Regions from separate parts of the Homo sapiens genome. Here all the other regions are linked to region 1. Evidence: promoter capture Hi-C in 16 types of primary human blood cells and fetal thymus (Javierre and others, 2016). All regions are on one chromosome and are shown on one strand. The core of a region is centred on a gene start or on the middle of the fragment in contact, and the rest is flanking DNA. Distances in the headings are between cores, read along the strand shown. Region 1 holds the start of ERGIC2 (ERGIC and golgi 2). Region 2 has its middle 7.7 kb from the start of DNM1L. Region 3 has its middle 7.6 kb from the start of YARS2.

What was found. The method cuts DNA at HindIII sites, captures the fragments that hold promoters and counts their contacts. A CHiCAGO score of 5 or more calls a contact.
Region 2: a contact is called between a fragment that was not itself captured here and the fragment with the promoter of ERGIC2 in region 1, in 2 of 17 cell types (naive CD8 T cells and non-activated CD4 T cells). The highest score is 5.3, in naive CD8 T cells.
Region 3: a contact is called between a fragment that was not itself captured here and the fragment with the promoter of ERGIC2 in region 1, in 1 of 17 cell types (total B cells). The highest score is 8.1, in total B cells.

The regions. Positions count from the first base shown.
Region 1 is chr12:29,379,861-29,382,560 of GRCh38, reverse strand. ERGIC2 (ERGIC and golgi 2) reads left to right here and starts at 1,389. Exons shown (of 14, transcript NM_016570.3): 1 at 1,389-1,446. RefSeq lists an enhancer at 1,657-1,826. The HindIII fragment of the contact is 7,270 bases long and covers 1-2,700 here.
Region 2 is chr12:32,670,230-32,672,929 of GRCh38, reverse strand. No RefSeq gene overlaps it. Among named protein-coding and RNA genes, the nearest start is that of DNM1L, 7.7 kb to the left of the region's middle. The HindIII fragment of the contact is 1,077 bases long and covers 725-1,801 here.
Region 3 is chr12:32,762,133-32,764,832 of GRCh38, reverse strand. No RefSeq gene overlaps it. Among named protein-coding and RNA genes, the nearest start is that of YARS2, 7.6 kb to the right of the region's middle. The HindIII fragment of the contact is 2,225 bases long and covers 237-2,461 here.

The sequences.
Region 1 (2,700 bases), core at 140-2,639:
TGCCTTTACGGCAAAGATTAAAAAAAGGCATTTTAGATGTATATTAATTTACTTAATCCTCGTAACAACTCTGAGATATTATCATGCCCATTTTACAGATGAGCAAATGGAGACACAAAGAGATGAAATAATGTGGTCAAGGTTACATGCTAGTAAGTTGCTGATCTGGAATTCTAACCCAGGAAGTCCTGTCTCCAGTGTCTATGATTTCACCCACTACACTATACTTCTTAAGCATGTCAAGAAAGTGAGAACTTTAAATTGATTTAATTAGACTAACTCTGAAAGTCTGAAAATAAAATTGATTCATTGGAAACTTTTCATCAGTCCTTATTTTGGGGGATATTCAATTTAGTGAAATTTAGTATTTCAGTAAAGGTTAATTCACTACATAAAACAATGTGATTTTTTTCCTTTGAGGCACAGTTTAGTATTGTGATCAAGATTTCCCTGACTCTCCCAGCGGTCTGAATTTGGGTAAATCACTTCACTACCCCTTGACTCAAATTCCGTATTTATAAAACAGGTAAATACTGGTATTATCTTCTAAGAGTGTTGTGAGGATACGCAGATTTTTTAAAAAAGCAGTTAAAGCCTTTAAACAGTAATTATAAGCAGTTGTCATAATTATGCCGTTGTTAGACTTCTAGGTCAATGAATCAGAAAATTTAAATCTCAATGTTTGATTATAAAATCTGGTAACAGATGGGTGAAAAGGAACCTGGAATGGGTTTACTCTCCAGGAGTTCACATTTAACTTTTCTTTCCGAAGTTCCGTCTATTAACTCCTGTTCTATGAAGTGGTAGAAAAAGATGAGGTATTAATTTTCTTTCTTAACAAATATTTGAAGGCATAGTTGGTGTTGGCGAAGGGAGATGAGGAAGACATATGTGCTTTCTTATGATATTAAAACCTGGAAGACAATAAAAACGCTGATCAAATAATAAAAAGCGTTACCTATGGCGGAAAAGGAAGCTCAAATGTTCTTGTCAGGGGAAAACGACACAAAAACTGAAAGAGGGAAACAAAACAATTGCACAGGTGATATGCATTAGGGTTGTTAGGGATAATTTCTGCGCCCAAGGCTCTTATTAGTAATGAAATACGGTGTGAGGAGCTGAGATTCGTTCTGCAGTCTCAGTGTTAGTCGGAAAGTAACCCCTCCCTTCCCATAGAAACAGAACCGGACTGGCGGCGCGATTACACCTAAAACAAGTTGCAACCTCATTTCCCTGTAGGCACGCCTCTTTTATCTTAACCACGCCTCTTCATTCCCTAAGCACGTCGTAAGCAAAGGGAATATCGCGAGATCTGTACATTGTCTCTTTTCTGACGTTTTCAGCTGTGATAGTCGCTTTTGTTCTCGCGATATTTCCGGGTACGCGGGAGCCCCGGCGACCCGGGCTTCTGTGAAACATGGCGGTAGGCTGGGACCATAACACAAGGTAAAATACTGAAACACCGCTGGGTGCTGTTCCCTCGGTTGTTCCAGGGCTGTTTAGGGCGTAAATGCAATTGAGGGAACTGGGAGCCTGTCATGGGCTTGGCTTCCTGTCTTCATTGATCTCTAGAGAGCCGGTCGGACGGAGAAGCCGCTCCACCTCCCACGGGGGCGTTACTGGCAGGACCCTAGGCAACGATGCTACTGGGAGCTTCCCTTTGCCAGGTCCGGGTGCTTGTGTGCTATCCTGCAACTCGAAGGAGTTCAGGTGCTTCCTCGATCGCACCTGATTCTGACCCTTTGCTTGTCACAGTGCCCGGTTCCCAGGTGGTTTCTCCAGTCCGCAGGCGAGTAGGATCCCAATCGGTCGAGTCCCAGTCCTCCCGGATGTCAGACTCCCTACCCCCATTCAGACAAATGCCACATTCGTGGCAGCACGTTGCCCTCTGTCTCTTTAAGAGTCTTGGCCTTGCCCGGAAGGAGTTTCGCACAGTGCTTCGGAAAATGAGAAGGGGGCGGGGGAGGGCGAGATGCTGAGAGACAGGTTCGACTGTCACTACTTTTCCTCGGCGCAGGAAACCTTCCGAAGGCAACGTGTCAACTCGTGGTGGAGAATAGCCTTGTTTATCTGTAGTATATAGAGTTGACAGGTCATTGTTTGAGAAAACACGTTTAAATAACTTTTATATTTTAGTGCCCCCGAGACTTAAAGACAAAGTGGCATAATAGCTGTTAAAATGTTGCCAGACTGGTTTTCAGAAGCAATGAAAGTTACAGTTAAAAACAGGATTTATTCATTTGAAGTTGTAATTCAGTATTTCAGTTAATTGCCTAGCCTGATACATTGGACTCCAGTATACAGCAATTATAAAGAATGAGCCTGGCTTGTTCACTGAAAAAAGACATGGTTATTTACCTAATTTGTTTGTTGATATCTTTAAGTTGTTGTAATTATGCCAGTTCTAGTGGAAAACATGAGGAAAAAAATTCTGATTTTTTGGGAGGGTGGGGGTTGGCGGTGCAGGGATGGATAGAGAGAGGAGGATTTTTTTTTTTTTTTTAAATGATGGTGAACTTTAGTATACAGTTGCGTGTTATAATGGCTTCCTGGTACAAATCATAAAAATATATCAAGTTTGAAAGATCTCTCAAAGGAAATCAGGCCTAGTCTGGAACAACGAGAGTTAGGGAAACAACAACAACCACCCACACATTTTCTTTCTTTGGGGATTGATGATTTAAGTGAAAGAAATGGCTA
Region 2 (2,700 bases), core at 14-2,513, 3.3 Mb before region 1:
TTCAACACATATTGATGAAGTACTTGTTAGGCATACGGATCTTAGCCAGGCAGTATATTTTGCTGGAGAGTAGGGAGGAACCGTGGATATGGCACTAACATGCCCTCCCCCTTCACCAATAGTGAGCTCACGAAGGGCAGAAGTGATTATCTTATTTAGCTGGGTTCCCCCACTACCTCGTATGAAGCGTGTTACATAATATTAGTCTACTGGATATGGGGTTTTCTTTTCTTTTTTATTTGGAAAATCTGGAATAACAAGGATTTAAGCAGCTCTGAATTGATATAATTGCAACCAGGACTGGCAATCAAATCTCACCAACACATATGAGTCTGGCTTGGCATAGGACTCCTCATTAGAATAGATGCCAAGTTACTTAGCTAGGGAGTAGCCTGGCTTTGTTCTAACTTAAAATCCCGAATTAGAGGAAGTTTATTTTGGATTAAATTAATAACTGGAAATTAATCGATCTTGGAAAAGGTCAGACTGTTTTTATCGCATGTGTCCAATATCATTTTATGCCAACATTTTGATCATCAATCACAGCCAAGATGCCGGTATCTGCACCTTCAAATCATAGCGGTTAGTGGGGATCTAATGTTAATATAAAATATACAGCTCTGTTGGGGAAGCCTCTTTGTCATATTTTGGAAACTGCCCGTGTTTTGCAAAGATGATAAAGTAAACAGCTTTAATCAATTTGCTACTCCCCAGGCCTCAAGCTTAACACATACTTTGTTAGCAGGTGCAGGAAATTGTTTGCAGATGGTGGAATTGGCCAGATGGTTCAGAAGCCAGAAATTGAATCTGGTGAGATACTGACGGGACCATGAGAGGGCAGTGTGACAACACAATTAAGAGCAGTTAACGACAAAATAACTTGGGAGTTAAGATATGGTCCTGATTTCTTCCCTTTGCTCCACACCCACACCCCAATAGAACGTAGCCCTTCTTTTTATCCTCCTACCATCAAAATTTGTGGCATATTTTAGAAACTATTTGAGATAATAGAGTTATTTTATTTATATTTATATATTTATTTTTGAGATCAAGTCTCGCTCTGTAGCCCAGGCTGGAGTGCAGTGGCACAATCTCAGCTCACTGCAACCTCTGCCTCCTGGGTTCAAGGGATTCTCCCACCTCAGCCTCCCAAGTAGCTGGGATTACAATAGGCGTGGGCCACTCGCCAGCTAATTTTTGTATTTTGTTTATTTATTTTTTTGAAAGACAGAGTTTCGCTCTTGTTGCCCAGGCTGGAGTGCAATGGCATGATCTCAGCTCACCGCAACCTCTGCCTCCCGGGTTCAAGTGATTCTCCTGCCTCAGCCTCCCGAGTAGTTGGGATTACAGGTATGCACCACCACGCCCGGCTAATTTTGTATTTTTTTAGTAGAAACGGGGTTTCTCCATGTTGGTCAGGCTGGTCTCGAACTCCTGACCTCAGATGATCCGCCCTGAGGTGTTAGCTAGACATCCAAAGTGCTGGGATTACAGGTGTGAGCCACTGCGCCCGGCTGTATTTTCAGTAGAGACAGGGTTTTGCCATGTTGGCCAGGCTGGCCTCAAACTCCTGACCTCAGGTGATCCGCCCATCTTGGCCTCTGAAAGTGCTGGGATTACAGGCATGAGCCACCACGCCCAGCAATAGTGATTTTAAATTACAGCAGTGACAACTGAAAATTATATGTTAGACATCCCTGCATTTAAACTACTTCACTTGCCCCATTTCTCAAGCCTTCTCATTAGCCTCTTTACAACTCTACTCCAGGTTCTCAAATGTTGTTTGACATTCTTAGAAGCTTTTCATATCTCCCTTCTCTGTTTTTCTGTTTTTTGTCTCCCTCACACAAACTCAATTTGCTCATATTTGATGGTGAAGAGAAATTTCACTTTTAGCCCTTGGTTAGCTGCTACCTTTGCAGATCTAAAGGCTCCCTAGTACACTATGACAAACAAAAGGGACACCTACTCTGGGACGCAAGATCATGGGAAGCATGACGTGGTTCTGGACTTAATGGTTCTGATGATATTTTCCTGATTCTCAGATAACAGTCGAGATAAAAAGATCCCGAGAGCCAGCTGTCGCTTATGATAAATATACAGTAACTTCTGGTGTACTGATTTTGTGACATTGTTCGGGAAGTAATTCCTGGATGTCTAGCTAACACCTGTTTTTCCCAGGCACTCTAACAGATTTATAAGCATCTAATTTCCCATATTAAATATCTTTCGGGCCGGGTGTGGTGGCTCACGCCTGTAATCCCAGCACTTTGGGAGGCCAAACAGGCAGATCACTGAGGCCAGGAGTTCGAGACTAGCCTGGCAACATGGCAAAACCCCATCCCTACTAAAAATACAAAAATTAGCTGGGCATGGAGCTGCACGGCTGTAGCTCCAGCTACTCGAGAGGCTGAGGTGGGACAATTGCTTGAACCCAGGAGGCAGAGGTTGTAGTGAGCCGAGATTGCACCACTGCACTGCAGCCTGGGCAACCGAGCAAGACTGTCAAATGAATGAATGAATCTCTTTCTGCATAAACTTGGTGGTGGAATATATTTGTTTCCTGGGGCTGCTGTAACAAAGTACCACTGACTGGTTGGTTTAGAACAGCAGATATGTATTGTCTCACAGTTCTGGAAGCTAGAAGTCCAAGACCAAGGTTCCCAAGGATTGGTTCCTACTGTAAGACACAATGAATTT
Region 3 (2,700 bases), core at 100-2,599, 3.4 Mb before region 1:
CTGCAGTGAGCCGTGATCATGCCACAGCCCTCCAGGCTGGACATTGCAAGACCCTGTTTCAAAAATACCCATTTTTAAAATTAACTTGTTTTCCAGAGTAGAAATGTTAGATAGAATGTCTGTAAAATTTATTCCCAAAACAGGACATTTTCGAGAATAAAAGGGGTCATATAAATAATTAGGCTGAGACAAGAGGCATATAAACCAGGGCTACATTCACCTATTTACTGGAAGCTTTCTCAAATATATAGTGTGACATCATGTTACAAGTCCATTGGAAAGGTGTCTCAGTTGGTGCTATGTGCTAGATATTTGGTCACCATCTGACACCATTGTGTCCCTGATTGCCACTCCCCTGAACCTCCTTAAACTGTGCTTGGAGAAGAGTTACGTGAGACATACAATGGGAAGGGGCATGGGTGTCTAAGATTTCCTTTGGTTTTAGAAAAAAATAGCTATGAGAATACAGAGGAGTTGTTTTCATTTGCTATCTCTGTTAGTGACACCCTTCCAGGTCGGTCTCCCACCCACGGGCAGCTTTGAATGAGATCAATGGCAATTGAAACTGTTTGGATCTGAGCAAAGCTGCTTGGATTTTCACTGGATCTTTCTGCAAATATGATATATGTTTCATTGGTCAACTATCACTTTCTAAATCTTCAATCTTAATTTTTCAAAACTTGTCATAATACAGTTTCCCTCTAATAACAGCCATGTAAGCATGACTTAAACTGGCTTCTACTGCTTAAGCAAACCTCAGTAGAGGAGAAAATAGATGTATTTATTTATTTATTTTGTAATAGAGTCTTGTTCCGTCACCAGGCTGGAGTGCAGTGGCATGATGTCGGCTCACTGCAACCTCCGCCTCCTGGGTTCAAGCAATTCTCCTGCCTCAGCCTCCCAAGTAGCTGGGACTACAGGTGTGTGCCACCATGCCCAGCTAATTTTTTGTATTTTTTGGTAGAGATGGGGTTTCACCATGTTGGTCAGGCGGTCTCGAACTCCCAACCTCAAGTGATCTGCCTGCCTCAGCCTCCCAAAGTGCTGGGATTACAGGCGTGAGCCACTGCGCCCAGGCTTTTTTTTGTTTGTTTGTTTTTTTCTTTGAGAGGGAGTCTCACTTTGTCACCCAGGCTGGAGTGCAGAGGCATGATCTCTGCTCACTGCAACGTCCACCTCCCAGGTTCAAGGGATTCTCCTGCCTCAGCCTCTCAAGTAGCTGAGATTATGGGCGCCCATCACCATGCCCGGCTAATTATTTTTTGTATTTTAGTAGAGATAGGGTTTCACCATGTTGGCCAGGCTGGTCTCAAACTCCTGACCTCAAGTGATCCGCCATCTTGGCCTCCCAAAGTGCTGGGATTGCAGGCATGGGCCACTGTGCCTGGCCGATGAATACATTTTTAACCTCCTCCCTGGTGTGGTGGCTTAAATAATGAAGTTAAAGCTGAGAAACAATAAATGGGACTTTTGACTACTGTGATAGCAAACAGGCATTTCAGAATTGTAGAGGTGAATGAGATTTTAGAATTCATCTAATCCAGCCCATTTACTTTTTTTTTTCTTTTCTTTTCTTTTTTTTCTGAAATGGAGTCTTGCTCTGTCGCTCAGGCTGGAGTGCAGTGGCGAGATCTCAGCTTGCTGCAATCTCTGCCTCCCAGGTTCAAGTGATTCTCCTGCCTCAGCCTCCCAAGTAGCTGGGACTACAGGTGCCGGCCACCATGCCTGGCTAATTTTTTGTATTGTTAGTAGAGACAGGGTTTCACCGTGTTAGCCAGGATGGTCTCGATCTCCTGACCACGTCGTGATTTGCCTGCCTCGGCCTCCCAAAATGCTGGGATTACAGGCATGAGCCACCGCGCCAAGCCCAGCCCATTTACTTCTAAAATGAGGACACCAAGGCTAGTGTGTTAAATGACTTATCTAAGGAGGAACAGGTAGTCAAGGTTAAGCTGAGATAGCTACTCATGTCTGTGACTCCTAGTCCCATGGTCTTTGGACCACGACTCAGAAGCACATTTTGTTATGGTTGTGAGGATGAAGGAAGTAATATTTGACTTTTCTGCAAACATTATGTAAATACAAGGTATTTGTTCCCCTTATGATGTTACAGAACATTAATGAGTGAGATGTTTCCAGACTTATTTCTCATTTTGGTAACTAACCAGTCAGTGCTTATAACAGAAAAACATAAAGTCCGTATTGAAGACACTGAGAAAAAAAGACAAAAATAGTTTTAATCAAAATAGAATTGCTCTACAAAACATAGAATGATTGCTTATTGTTTTGTTTCTTCTCCAATGGAGATATAAATTCACTTGGCCTTGATGGAGGGACAATGATGAGTTGATTGATTCACTTCTACTCTGTCAGAGAGACCAGAAAATTACTAAGGTAACTTGATAAATAGGAAAATTCCAAAATGATCTTCACTGAAGACATTATCCATTTGATCTAAGCTTTTCAGATGCAATCACAATAGTGTCTCCAAGATCCTCTTTCTAAGAGGGAAGCCTGCTTTTCTCATCACATTAGCAAACAGCCAGGCGGATTCGTTGCTTGCCAGTCATGGCTGAATTACAGTCCCGACAACATGGCCTGGGAAAGAACATGCTGGTAGGGGACTGCGGCGGCTATCACCAAGCTCAGAGCAGAAGGGGTGGATGTTGGGGAAAGGGTTCTGCGAGGAGAAAAATTCAC